Linked DNA regions of Homo sapiens: region 1 is linked to region 2. Evidence: promoter capture Hi-C in 16 types of primary human blood cells and fetal thymus (Javierre and others, 2016). All regions are on one chromosome and are shown on one strand. The core of a region is centred on a gene start or on the middle of the fragment in contact, and the rest is flanking DNA. Distances in the headings are between cores, read along the strand shown.

Evidence for each region. Contacts are between HindIII fragments. The CHiCAGO score rates a contact against its expected background, and 5 or more counts as called.
Region 1: the fragment with the promoter of AURKC here is called in contact with a fragment that was not itself captured in region 2 in 1 of 17 cell types (naive CD8 T cells); the score reaches 5.8 in naive CD8 T cells.

The regions. Positions count from the first base shown.
Region 1 is chr19:57,225,870-57,233,073 of GRCh38, reverse strand. It overlaps AURKC (aurora kinase C), which reads right to left and starts at 2,051. Exons shown (of 7, transcript NM_001015878.2): 1 at 1,768-2,051; 2 at 1,287-1,332; 3 at 850-1,041; 4 at 394-532. The coding sequence starts at 1,825. The HindIII fragment of the contact is 17,293 bases long and covers 1-7,204 here.
Region 2 is chr19:58,123,927-58,131,383 of GRCh38, reverse strand. It overlaps ZNF329 (zinc finger protein 329), which reads left to right. Exons shown (of 4, transcript NM_024620.4): 4 at 1,873-5,136. The coding sequence starts at 1,881. The coding sequence ends at 3,506. Among named protein-coding and RNA genes, the nearest start is that of ZNF329, 23 kb to the left of the region's middle. The HindIII fragment of the contact is 846 bases long and covers 1,836-2,681 here.

The DNA.
Region 1 (7,204 bases), core at 802-3,301, 900 kb after region 2:
AAAATCATTGCCATGGTTCCCTTTCCGGAACCCTCTAGAAATCTCTTTGTACCTATCTCTAAGCCAGTTCTAGCTATTTATTCAGTGAACTCCTTCAGAGCCTTTCAATATGTTTCTTTACATAAGGCAGTGGAGTTAGATTCTGTTGCTTATAACCAAAGAATCCAAACCTATACGCAGTACTTATTAATATTCTGGAGATACAATGAGGTTAATTAGGGTATCCAAGGATAAAGCTGTAGAACATACGTGCCATTATATTAAATTTACACAATAACATTCAGAAGTAAACTTCTCAGAAGGCAATGCGGACCCTCCTGACAGCCACAAACAGAGCTCCCACCAGCCCACAGTAAACTCAGAGACCCCAGAGCCTCCAGACCCGCACCTCACCGTGGCTGTGCGCTGTTCATCTAATTTCTCGCTTTTCTGCAGCTCCTTGTAGAGCTCACCCCTTGGAGCATATTCCAGAATCAGGTACACCCGGCGTGCATCATGGAAATAGTTATACAGGCGCAGGATATTGGGGTGTCTGAAGGATTAATGTTGGAAGAGTCAGATTTCTCCCTGAGGCCTATCATATGATGCCACCGTCACTGCCTGGTCACACAAGTGGCAAATTATGCTGGGACCAGAATAACAACAGCCCTATCTGGGAGCAAGTGAGGGGAGAACGGAGAACAGGAACCAGGATTCGAGTGTCTGACCCAGGGTAGGAGGTAGTGTAAATGGAATGAACTGCAGAGAAGTCTTCAAGGTACAAGTGCAGGGTTTACTTGGGGTTAGTATTTGGGGAAAATGCTGGGCTCAGACGTCAAAGATGAAAGAGGAAGCAGAGACTGTCCTTACTGTAGATGAGCCTGGATCTCAATTTCCCGGCGCAGCTGGTGCTCCAGTCCTTCCTTCTCTATCTGCGACTTGAAGAGAACCTTCAGGGCCACAATGAAATGGCTTTCCTTGAGCCGAGCCAGGTACACATTCCCAAATTTCCCCTTGCCCAGGGGACGCCCGATTTCAAAGTCATCGACTGTGAGGCGCCGCCTGACAGGAGAGGAAGAAAAAAGCCTCAGCTTGGGAGGTAGGGTAGGCGGAGGGAAAGTCAGGGATGCCAATGCTCCCCTTCCTCTTTCATTGTATCCTTCCTCTGCCGCTTTCCCTTCTCACACAGACCCAGCCCTATCAGTAGTTCTCGTTCCCAGGAGCCAGCACCCCACACACCCAGTCTGTTCTTCATCCCCACGTCCCACCTTCCTTCCTTTTCCAGATACCAATCCCAAGGGACTCACATGGCTGGGCTGCTGGGCTGCTGGGCTGTTTGGTTTGCTGTAGCCACTGAAAGAGAGGAGGAGGAGGGAGATAGGAAGGGAGAGGGGAGGGAAGGAGAAGGGGAGAGAAAGAGAGGAGAGGAGAACAGTAGAGAAGGGAATAGGGAGCGAGAGGTGAGGGGAAGAAGGGGAGGAGAGAAAGAGAGGGAAGGGGAAGGCAGGGAGAGGGGGAGGGAGAGGTAAGGGGAAGAAGAAAGAGTAAGGTAAGGTAGGGAGGGGAGGAGGAGGTGAAGAAGAGGCAGAGAGAAAGGAAGGGGAGGAGAGAGTAGGGGAGGGAGAGGTGAAAGAAAGAATTGGAGGGAAGGGAGGGAGTGGGGAGAAAAGAAGAGCGTTGGGGAGGAGGAGAGGGAGGGGAGATGTCAACACATGTGTCTTCTGTGCACCCGACCCCTGGCCCAGTCCCCAGCCTTCCCTGCGTCCTTTCTCTGGCGCTGGCTCTCACACTCTTCGCCTGCAGGTTGAGCTTTGCCCAGCTGCACCACAGCTCTGGGGGAGCTCATGGGGAGAAGAGGTGAGGGCGCGGACGCCTTCCTGAACCCTCTGGATGGCTGTTCCCGTTCACAGGGTCCTGAAAGGGGTGGGGGGTCACTTTCTGGCCGGGGCGCTTCCAATCCTGCTCGTCCTGCAGCCTCACTGATGTCTCACTGCTACACAGGCTTCGGGATCCGCGGCGTCGTGAGCAGCCGTGGCTGCGCGGCCTTCTTTTATACCCGGCACCAACCGCTCAGAGAGGTACTTCCTGGCTGGCTCCTATTGGCTGAAATTCCTGACGCCATCGGAAGTGCGCCCAATAGAAAGGACAGAAACGGGAGCCTCAGTCCAGGGTTCCCGGGTTGGGGCGGAACTGGAGTGCTGCGGTCCGGGCTGGGCACTGAAAGCGAGGGCCAGGGGTGAGGCCCGAGAAGGAAGGAGACAGAGGGTGCGGAGAGGTGGTGATGGCCGTTGTGGGAATGAACAACGCATACACCCACGGGGTGTGCATGCGTCAACTAGGAGAGAGCCGCGATGCACGTGGGAATGAACAGACGCCCACTCCTGACGTGCTGGAGCCTCGTGCAGCCCGTGACCCTAAACCACTTCGCGCCTTGTGCAGCCGGCGACCCCAAAACCACCTTGCTTCAAGGTCACGTCCGATTCAGGCCACTCTCCAGGGTCACCGCGATGGGGCTCCCTGAAGCCTGCGGCTGTGCCTGCTCACAGCCAGGACGCCACCAGTCCAGCTCACTTACCCCTCTCCTCCCACTCGCCAAATATTTGTTGGACCCTGTAATCAGTTTGTGGATTTGGCCTCAGATCGTAAAATCAGCCCCCACGTATTTGTTTAGCAAACACATAAGTTTCAAAAACATTAAAAATTGAATTCTTTTAGACAGGGAACATATCTTGCAGAAATATAATTGAAGGCCTGGCGTGATGGCTCATGCCTGTAATCCCAGCACTTTGGGAGGCCGAGGCGGGCGGATCACCTGAGGTAGGCAGTTCGAGACCAGCCTGGCCAACAGGGCGAAACCCCGTTTCTACTACAAAAATTAGCCGGGTGTGGTGGCGCATGCCTGTAATCCCACCTACTCAAAAGGCTGAGGCAAGAGAATCGCTTGAACCCTGGAGGCGGAGGTTGCAGTGAGCCAAGATCATGCCACTGCACTCCAGCCTGGGCGACAGAAGGAGAACGAGACTCTGTCTCAAAAAAAACAAAAACAAAAACAAAAAAACCCAAAAACAAAAAAGCTCGTCTCAAAATATTTGGGGAGACCTATTTGAGTAATAAAACTCTGGTCTCTCATTTAGCTCGATTGATGTGAATTAAACCCTTTATTGCAATTATCCTGTCTTGATAAGTCGACTCTATCTGGGGAGCAGGGAAAATAATGAACCCATTAGGTGGTTACAATAGGTGGATCAGGGTAATGGCGCTTAGCTCAGGCCAACCATTCCTTTCTCAGAGGCTTTCCCAAACCTGTCTGTTTGTTTGTTTATTGAGACGGAGTCTTGCTCTGTCACCCAGGCTGGAGTGCAGTGGCTCGAACTCAGCTCATGCAACCTCCGCCTCCTAGGTTCAAACATTTCTCCTGCCTCAGCCTCCTGAGTAGCTGGGATTACAGGCACCTGCCACCATGCCCGGCTAATTTTTGTATTTTTAGTAGAGACAGGGTTTCACCATGTTGGCCAGGCTGGTCTCGAACTCCTGACCTCAGGTGATCCACTCGCCTCGGCTTCCCAAAATACTGGGATCACAGGTGTGAGCCACTGCGCCCAGCTCCAAACTGTCAATTTAAAACAGCCCCCACTACAACGTCATCCTGTTCTGTTTTTCCTTAGGTCACTCATAACCATGTGAAAGTGCTGTTTTATATATGTGTATATTGTTAATTTAATGAGTATCGATTGAGTGCCTATCTTGCAACAGGCACTGCTCTAAAAAATCAGATATGTACATAGCAAAATAATTATGCATTCCTGTACTTGAGGAATTTTTTTTTTTTTTTGAGATGCAGTTTCACTCTGTCGCCCAGGCTGGAGTGCAGTGGTGCGATCTCGGCTCACTGCAACCTCTGCCTCCCAGGTTCAACCAATTCTCCTGCCTCAGACTCCCAAGTAGCTGGGACTACAGGTGCACACCACCACGCCCGGCTAATTTTGGTATTTTTAGTAGAGACAGGGTTTCACCATTTTGGCCAGGCTGGTGTCGAACTCCTGACCACAGATGATCTACCCACCTCAGTCTCCCAAATTGCTGGGATTACAGGCGTGAGCCACTGTCCCTGGCCCTCGGGGACCTTTTAATTCCAACAATCAGTAACTCAAAAAGAACAACCACAACCACAAAAGTAAACAATATAGAAGGTTAGAGGGAGGTAGAGTAGTTGGGAAATGTCTAAAAGACAGTTATATCTGAGCATGGACTTGGAGGAATGGAGCATCTGAGGTAACAGGGTCTCATAGAGAGAGCACCTAAGACAAGGGAATGAAAGCAGGAGGATCCTGTCGTGTTTGGGGAAGTGCAACAAGGTTAGTATGGCTGCAGCTGAAGATAAACTGAATCACAGAGATAGATGGACGTGAATTCTGTAGTGTCCTGGAGGCCACAGTAAGGAGGTCATATTTTTATTTTTAGTTTTGAGACAAAGTCTCACTCTTCCACCCAGGCTGGAGTGCAGTGACACCATCATGGCCCACTACAGCCTCGAACTCCCAGGCTTAAGCAATTCTTCCACCTAAGCCTGCCAAGTAGCTGGGACCACAGGTGCATGCCACCACATCCAGCCAATTTTTAAAAATTTATTCTTTTTAAAGATGGGGTCTCACTATATTTCCCAGGCTGGTCTTGAACTCCTGGGCTCAAGCAGTCCTGCCTCAGCCTCCCAAAGTGCTGGGATTACAGGCGCGAGCCACTGCGCCTGGCCCAAGGATGTTGTAATAGGCTCCCTGTGTATTCTAGAATATACCTGGGATTGTATTTAGTCAGGCAGGGTGTGACAATCAGATACAGAAGTGATTATTATGGAGGAAGTTTATAGTAAGAGATCCCTAGAAACAGGAGGCAGAGCACACCATGCGGGTGGAAGCACCAGAGCAGGTTAGAAAGCAGCAGCAGAGGAGAAAGCAAGGCCCAGAGCCTGCGCTGTGTTTTCCACCAGAAAGGCAAGGCAAGGCAGGGCAGGGGCAGCATAAACAGAATAGGATTTGCTACTGTGAATAATGTTGGCAGGTTTTAGGACACAGGCACTGTCCGCAGCTATCTGATATCTGACCCTAGAATGAATTAGGGCCAACTTCAGGAAAACAACCTCTTGGGGTATCTTGCCTGGTAAGATTTTTATGTCGAAAACCATAAGTAGGTCCTGCTGCACGTTTGACCAGATAATTTATGCTAACAATATGATTCATGGTGGATGCTGGCTTTTGCATGCATGAGGCCCTGGGCCATGCTATATGTTTGTTTTCTGCAAGGGTTGTAGACTGGATATTTATGGTTATTCATGTGGGTTCTGCATTCCTACCTCAATGACCCTTAACGAAAACTCTAGACGTCAAGGCTTGGGGGAGCTTCCCTGGCTGGCAATACTGTGAATGTGTTGCACACAACTTTGCTGGGAGAATTCAGTGTGCCCTTGTGCAACTGCACTGGGAGGGAACACCTGCTAAGTTTGTGCCTGTGCTGGACACAGTGGCTTCCACCCGTAATCCCAGCACTTTGGGAGGCCAAGGCGGGTGGATCACTTGAAGTCAGGAGTTCCAGACTGGCCTGGCCAACATGGTGTAACCCCATCTCTGCTAAAAACACAAAAATCAGCCAGTGTGGTGGCACATGCCTGTAATCCCAGCTACTTGGGAGGCTGAGGCAGAGGATCACCTGAACCTGGGAGGCAGAGGTTGCAGTGAGCCGAGATTGTGCCATTGCACTCCAGCCTGGGTGACACAGCGAGACTCCATCTCAAAAAAAAAAAAAAAAAAAAAGAAAAAGAAAAAAGAAAAAAAATTGTGCCTGGTTTCTCACAGATTTCCTCCTATGTGCCTTTTACCTTTGGTGATCTTGGTCTCTATCCTTTTGTGGTAATAAACTGTAACCATGAGTACAACAGCTTTTCTGAGTTGTGTGTGACTTTCTTTTCTGAATTTTGACTTTCAGGCAAATCATCGAGCCTGAGGTGGTACTGGGGAGAGAATGTCACATAACCTAAAATGTCAAAAATGATTAAGGCTCATTCACCTAACAAATATCTGAATACATACTATTGACTACAAACTATGCACATGGAACATTAGGAGAAAATCTAGATCAAGGTCTGTGCTTTTTCGAAGCTGGAAATTGAGTTCAGGATACGGTCATTATTCAATAACCAAACAAATCAATAGATAATCATGAAAGAATGGGTATGAGCTAGCTGGGTGCTCTAGTGGGCTTCTGTGAAGGTGTGCTCTCTGGGACAAAATGAAGGATACACATTTGCTAACTGGGCAAAGCAGGTGGTGGAAGCTCCATCTCGAGTGGGAAAAGGAAAGGGAAGCATGGAGTGAAAGGAGAGCAGTAAGACTTGTATGAGATGAGGGTTGGGGAAATACGTTTTAGGGTATGTTCACTAAAGTAGGTAGCTGAACCCAAGAGTGCAGATGAGGCCTGGGGAGAGACCAGTAAGAGAAAAAAGAGGCCTGGGACAAAGCCTTAGAAATTTCAACACCGGTCAGGCACGGTGGCTCATGCCTGTAAGCCCAGCCCTTTAGGAGGCCAAGGCAGGCGGATCACCTGAGGTCAGGAGTTAAAGACCAGCCTGGCCAACATGGTGAAACCCCGTCTCTACAAAAATACAAAAATTAGCCGGGCATAATGGCAGATGCCTGTAATGCCAGCTACTCAGGGGGCAGAGGCGGGAGAATCACTTGAACCTGGGAGGCGGAGGATGCAGTGAGCCGAGATCATGCCATTGCACTTCAGCCCGGAGACAGAGCAAGACTCTGTCTCAAAGAGAAAAAAAAAAGAAAAAAAATTCAACACCAAATGGCTGGATACACGTGGATGCACCAACATGAAAGGGGAAAAGGAGTGAGAGGGTGCAGGGGAGAAAACCAGAAGCATAACCTTACAGAATCCAAGAGTACATCTGGAGAAAGGACTGGACAACAACAGTTTCAAGTCCTGTCCATAGCCCAGAAAAGACAAGGACTTAGGATTCATAAACAGGGAGCCACTGCTGACCTTCACCAGAGTGGTAAAAAGCGTGGTGCTGTAGCCGGGGAGTTTACAAGGAGAGGGGAGTTGCGGGACGTGGAGAGAAATAACACAAGGAAGAGGTAATGGGAGCGTGACATGAGCCCCAAGAGGCTCCTCCATTAGAGGAAGAGAGTGAGGAAAAGACAAAGAACTCAAAGCTGGAGAAGCC
Region 2 (7,457 bases), core at 1,009-3,508:
GAATGCAGTGGCACAATTACAGCTCACTGCAGCCTCAGCCTTCTGTGTGGGCTCAAGTGATAACTCCCACTTCAGCCTCCCAGAGTGCTGGGATTACAGGCATGACCCCCAATGCTTGGCCATATGGTTTTTTGGTTAAGTTTTGTTGATCAAAGTCTGCCACACTTATGAAGGCATACTACATTATTTAAACTTTGACTTTATGTTGCAGCCTGTATCCTTCTGAAATGTAAATACACGCGCACACACACACACACACACACATATACACATATACATGTATATATATTTAAATTGCCTAGAATGTAGACATATATGTATGTATGTATTCTGAGGCAAGGGTCTATTTTCATTTTACCTTAAAAAATAGAAAGAAGGCTGGGCACAATGGCTCATCCCTGTATTTGCAGCATTTTGGGAGGCTGAGGTGGGATAATTGCTTGAAGTTTTTGAGATTGAGGCTTCAGTGAACCAAGATCACACCACTGCACTTCAGCCTGAATGACAGAGCGAGACCCGATCCCACCAAATGAATGAACGAATGAATGGACAACCAGTTGTCTTAATATTGTGAAGTCTGAATGGACAAGGATGGTGACAGGAAGATTGATATGCATGAAGACACATGCAACCATTTACAGAATGCCCTTCATCCCCTAGCCTTGGAGACTGCTTTGTACATGATCCAGTTTTTTTTTTTTTTTTTTTTTGAGACGGAGTCTTGCTCTGTGGCCCAGGCTGGAGTGCAGTGGCACGATCTTGGCTCACTGCAAGCTCCGCCTCCCGGGTTCGCGCCATTCTCCTGCCTCAGCCTCCCGAGTAGCTGGGACTACAGGCGCCCGCCACCACGCCTGGCTAATTGTTTGTATTTTTTTAGTAGAGACGGGGTTTCACCACGTTAGCCAGGATGGTCTCAATCTCCTGACCTTGTGATCTGCCCACCTCGGCCTCCCAAAGTGCTGGGATTACAGGCGTGACCACCGCGCCTGGCCGACATGATCCAGTTTTTATAACAACCATGCAGGGCAGTCTTTGACAGTTTTTGTTTTGTTTTGTTTTTTGAGATGGAGTCTCACTCTGCCGCGTAGGCTGGAGTGCAGTGGTGTGATCTCAGCTCACTGCAACCTCTGCCTACCAGGTTGAAGTGATTCTCCTGCCTCAGCCTCCAGAGTAGCTGGGACTACAGGCATGTGCCACCACGCCTGGCTGATTTTTTTTGTATTTTTAGTAGAGACGGTGTTTCACCATGTTGGTCAGGCTGGTCTTGAACTCCTGACTTCAAATGATCCACCTGCCTCCACTTCCCAAAGTGCTGGGATTACAGGAGTGAACCACTGTGCCCCGCCAGGTCATTGACAGTTCTAAGACTTAGACCCAGAACTTTTAGGTCACCAAGCCTGTGCTTTGTCCTATCCATGAATGCAGAACTTTGATGACAGAGCTGGGGTGAGAACTGTTCCTTCAGTGCTGTTGTAAGCTCATTGTGAAGTCAGAGCTTTGGAAATGTGTACTGATGGGCAGTGTGTGACAGGGACAAGAATGCAGTGGCTGGGATGGAATTCTAGGGGGAGCAGGGATGCTTGGCCTCTGGTCTCTCACATCTCAAACTAATCCTTTTGGTGATGATTTATCCCGAGGTCCATTCCTCCTGCCTGCTCTCTAGGAAGATGAAAATGCTACATGGCTCTTTTTGAATCTGTTCTTGGTTCCATTCCTTGGCTACGATTTTACCTCTTCCTTGTATAAATTTGAATTTAAAAGAGAAAACAAGTAAAAAAATACACATCTTTACACCTAGCCCATCATCATTGTCTGTTTCTCTTACAGATAAAGCTTCATATACCTAAGTCTGCATTTTTCTTCTTTTTGCAGTTTGGGATATGAGATTGAAAATGACGACTCGGAATTTTCCTGAGAGAGAAGTACCCTGTGATGTAGAAGTGGAAAGATTCACAAGGGAAGTTCCCTGCTTGTCCAGTTTAGGTGATGGTTGGGACTGTGAGAACCAGGAGGGACACTTGAGGCAATCAGCTTTAACTCTGGAGAAACCAGGGACTCAGGAAGCAATTTGTGAATATCCTGGTTTTGGGGAGCATTTGATTGCAAGCTCAGACCTTCCACCGTCTCAGAGAGTTCTGGCAACAAATGGTTTCCATGCACCTGACTCAAATGTTAGTGGTCTGGATTGTGACCCCGCCTTACCCAGCTATCCTAAAAGTTATGCAGATAAGAGAACTGGTGACAGTGATGCCTGTGGAAAAGGCTTCAACCATTCCATGGAAGTTATTCATGGAAGAAATCCAGTGAGAGAGAAGCCCTACAAATACCCTGAAAGTGTTAAGTCTTTTAATCATTTTACCTCTCTTGGTCATCAGAAAATAATGAAAAGAGGCAAGAAATCGTATGAAGGTAAGAATTTTGAGAACATCTTTACTCTGAGCTCATCGCTTAATGAAAACCAGAGAAATCTCCCTGGAGAGAAACAATATAGATGTACTGAATGTGGCAAATGCTTCAAACGGAACTCTTCTCTTGTTTTGCATCACCGAACTCACACCGGAGAGAAGCCTTATACTTGTAATGAGTGTGGAAAGTCCTTCTCCAAGAACTACAACCTGATTGTGCATCAAAGAATCCACACAGGAGAGAAGCCCTATGAATGCAGTAAATGTGGGAAAGCTTTCAGTGATGGCTCAGCTCTGACACAGCACCAGAGAATTCACACAGGCGAGAAACCTTATGAATGCCTAGAGTGTGGAAAAACCTTCAACCGAAATTCATCCTTAATTTTGCACCAAAGAACTCATACAGGGGAAAAACCATATAGATGTAACGAATGTGGGAAACCCTTCACTGACATCTCCCACCTTACAGTGCATCTCAGAATCCACACCGGTGAGAAGCCCTATGAGTGTAGCAAATGTGGAAAGGCTTTCCGGGACGGCTCGTACCTCACCCAGCATGAGAGGACTCACACTGGAGAAAAGCCCTTTGAGTGTGCAGAGTGCGGGAAATCCTTCAACAGAAACTCTCACCTCATTGTGCATCAAAAGATCCATTCTGGGGAGAAACCCTATGAATGTAAAGAATGTGGCAAGACTTTCATCGAGAGTGCGTACCTCATCAGGCATCAGAGGATTCATACTGGCGAGAAGCCCTATGGCTGCAACCAGTGTCAGAAACTTTTCAGGAATATCGCTGGCCTCATTAGGCACCAGAGGACTCATACTGGTGAGAAGCCCTATGAGTGTAATCAGTGTGGCAAAGCCTTCAGGGACAGCTCCTGTCTGACCAAGCACCAGAGAATTCACACTAAGGAGACCCCATATCAGTGTCCAGAATGTGGGAAGTCCTTCAAGCAGAACTCTCACCTGGCAGTACATCAGAGACTCCATAGCAGGGAGGGTCCCAGCCGGTGTCCTCAGTGTGGAAAAATGTTCCAAAAGAGCTCATCCCTTGTTCGACATCAAAGAGCACACCTGGGAGAGCAACCCATGGAAACATAATGGTTGGGGGCCACATGAGTCTTCCAGTTCACTCTCACTCCTGTGTTTAGGAGGCGTGTCTTAGATCTGACTCCTCTCTGGTCAGTAGAAAAGAATCCTTTAAGCTATCCAGTGAATTGATGAATGTGAGACATTGCTGAGCCACACTGTTAAGTCTGCTCATTGGGGAACTCCAGAGACAACTTAGGATGAGGGCAGAAAAGTCTTTGGGGATGATTCAGTCTGTACCAGACATGACAACACACACACTGGAATGAAATGTGCAAACATGGGGGTGACACCACAGAGAGAACCTGTGAATGCATTCAGAACATGATTGGAATGAAGAGCCCTGTAGTAGGGAGTTTCCACCTTGTACGTAAGCAAACACTGAATCAACTTTTTTTTTTTTTTCGGACAGAGTCTCACTGTGCAGTGGCATGATCTCCACTCACAGCAACCTCTGCCTCCCAGGTTCAAGCAGTTCTCCTGCCTCAGCCTCCAAAGTAGCTAGGATTACAGGTGCCTGCCACCATGCCTGGCTAATTTTTTCTATTTTTAGTAGAGACAGGGTTTCACTGTGTTGGCCAGGCTGGTCTTGAACTCCTGACCTCATGATCCGCCCACCTCAGCCTCCCAAAGTGTTGGGATTACAGGCATGAGACACTGCCTGGCCTGAATCAACCTTTTTTAAGTGTAATCAGAAAGAGAGGCTTTGGCAGGGGCTCTTACTGTGTTTTCTGTAACAACAAAGGTGTACAATGAGAGAGTCCACACAGTGCTGTACTGCACACACCACAGAATGTGTGAGATTTTCCTGTTTGAATGTATGTCTGCATTATACTCCTGCAATAATGCTGAGGACTCGTTGCAGGAGGGCAAACTAGGTGAATAAATTACCTGTGAATGAACAATGAAGTCGTTCCTCTTAAGACTGAAACAAGCAGGCCAGATGTGGTGGCTCACGCCTGTAATCCTAGCACTTTGGGAGGCCGAGGCGGCCAGATCACAAGGTTAGGAGTTCAAGACCAGCCTGGCCAGCATGGTGAAACCCCATCTCTACCAAAAATACAGGAAATTATCTGGGCATAGTAGTGTGTGCCTGTAATCCCAGCTACTTGGGAAGCTGAGGCAGGAGAATTGCTTGAACCTGGGAGGTGGAGGTTGCAGTGAGCTAAGATCGCACCACTGCACTCCAGCCTGGGTGACAGAGCGAGACTCCATTTCAAAAAAAAAGACTGAAACAAGCTTGTGCTAAGATGGAAAGGGCTGCTTCTAACAGATGTGGTTTGTTGCTTTAGTTGTTGAAGCAAAAATACTGAGTTGTTATGTTTATGTTATCACCCCACCACTACCTCCATGGTTGTTCATTTAGGATGCTTCTAATTCAGCCACTGTGAACCATTATAAAGGTTTTATTGCCATGTTGAAAATGTTTATAATATGGCAAAAAGGGGCATCAAATAGAAGATTTACTATTATTCCAGCCATGTAAAAATATGTGCACATATGGATGTATGTTGAAAGTGGATGATGGAGAAATAAAATGTGGTTTTCTTTGGGGACTGGAATTTTGTATCATATTTTTTTCTCTGTTACAGATACTTGTTGGCATAATAATTTGGTAATAAATTAAAAAGTGAAGCCAAAAGGAGGTTAATTTGGGGTTTCTTTGGACCTTTAGTAGTAGGGACTGGATCAGGGCAACAGGGAAGCTGTAAGTGTGGATGGAGGGGCATTGGGCAGTAGCGTCTCTGGAATCAGCATCCCAAAGCCCAGGGCATGAGAATAACTTCCTTCTTTGGGACTTGGGTTATAAGGGGTTGTCAGTGTAGAAGAGAGAGTGAGTCCCAGAGAATGGAGAACAGGAAGCCTGTAGAAAATTTGGGATGACTTTGGAGTGGCCCTTCCGAGGCAGTGCAGTACTGGCCGAGTGAAAGCCAGTCAAGGTGGATGACACAGCCTTGAAGCCCCATGAGTGGATCCCCTTGGGATTTTGCCTCTAGACAATTTCCTCTCCTGGGAGAAGGGACAGGTGTGACGATAGTGAAGATTAGTGATGAGTCAGTCCAGGACTGGGGTCAGCCAGGCCCATTGTATTAGCTGGATCAAGGTTCATGTGTGTGTGACCTGGTGTCTCCATGGTGCTGGTATTCTGAGGTCCGGACCCTCAGGCCAGCTCGTGGGGAGCTTCAAGCAGCCATGCCTCCTTCTCTGTGTGTGTTCTCTTTTGTCTGGCATCAGCTGTGGCCTCCATGGCACTTGCTGTCTCCCATGAGGCAGCCAACCTTGGTATGCCTCTGATAGCTGTGTCATGGGAAGGGTGGGCAGCCAGTCCTGAGAGAGGAATGAGTAGATAGGTAATGGAGGCACGGAGTGAAGAAGGGAAGAGTGGCCCTGAAAGAGCATTTAGAGAAGTAAAGCTCCCCCACACACATTGGGATATGGTGATCTCATGGTGAGAGGTGCAGGGGCATGGAGGACTAGCGGGGACCCTTGTTGAACCCTCTGGAGTCAGGATGGGATGGTGCTGTGTCCCAGGGTGTGGTGATGGATGAAAGGGGACCAGGCTGACTTGTCTTCTCCAGAGAGTTGCGTTTGAGTATAGCTCACATACAGAAAAGTGCACTGCAGACTCTCCTTGACCCAACTTAAATCAGGATCCCCTGAGCCCTCTGACCTTGGGCTTCTCCCTTTCCCTATAGGATCCAGTTTGAGCAAGATGTTTGGATGTGCATAGTAGCTCACACCTGTAATTTCACCACTTCAGGAGGCTGAGGCAGGAGGATTGCTTGAGCCTAGGCATTTAAGACCAGCCTGGGCAACATAGCAAGACCCCCATCTCTGCAAATAGTAATGTAAAAATTAGCCAGGTGTGATGGCATGTGCCTTTAGTTCCAGCTTATCAGGAGGGAGAGTCAGGAAGAAGGCAGAAGAATCTCTTAAGCCTGGGAGTTTGAGGCTACAGTGAGCCGTGATCACACCACTGCACTGTGGGCTGGATAATGGGGCAAGACCCTGTCTCAAAACAGAATCTGATATGGTTTGGCTCTGTGTCCCCACCCAAGTCTCATGTCAAATTGTAATTCTCTTGTTAGGGGAGGGACCTGGTGGGAGATGAATGGATCATGGGGGCAGATTTCCTCCTTGCTGTTCTCATGATAGTTCACATGAGACCTGCTTGTTTAAAAGTGTGTAGCACTTCCTTCTTCATTCACCCTCTTTCCTGCTCTGCCATGGTAAGACATGCTTACTTCTTCACCTTCTGCCATGACTGTAAGTTTCCTGAGGCCTCCCAGCCATGCTTCATGTACAGCCTGTGGAATCGTAAGTCAATTAAACCTCTTTTCTTCATAAATTACCGAATCTTAGGTAGTTCCTCACAGCAGTGTGAGAATGGACTAGTATAGAAAGTTGGTAACAGGAGTGGGGCACTGCTATAAAGATTCCTGAAGCTACTTTGGAACTGGGTAATGTGCAGATGTTGGAACAGTTTGAAGGGATCCGAAGAAGACAGGAAGTTGAGGGAAAGTGTGGAACTTCCTAGAGACTTAAATGGTTGTGACCAAAATGCTAATAATATGGACAGTGAAGTCTGGGCTGTGGTGGTCTCAGATAGAGATGAGGAACTTACTGGTAACTGGAATAAAGGTCACTCTCGCTGTGCTTTAGCAAAAAGACTGGCAGCATTGTGCTCCTGCTCTAGAGATCTGTGACAGACACAACTTGAGCTTGAGAAAGATTATTTAGAGTATCTGGCAGAATAAATTTCTAAGCAGCAGTGTTGGAGAGGTCGCCTGGCTGCTTCTTAAAGTCTGCACTCAATTGCATAATCAAAGAAATGACCTAAAACTATAACTTACATTTAAACTGGAAGCAAAGCATGAAAGTTTTGAAAATTTGCTGCCCATTTTCTGGCAGGAATCAAAGGCTGCAGAAATGTACATAAGTAAAGAAGAGCTGAAAGTTAAT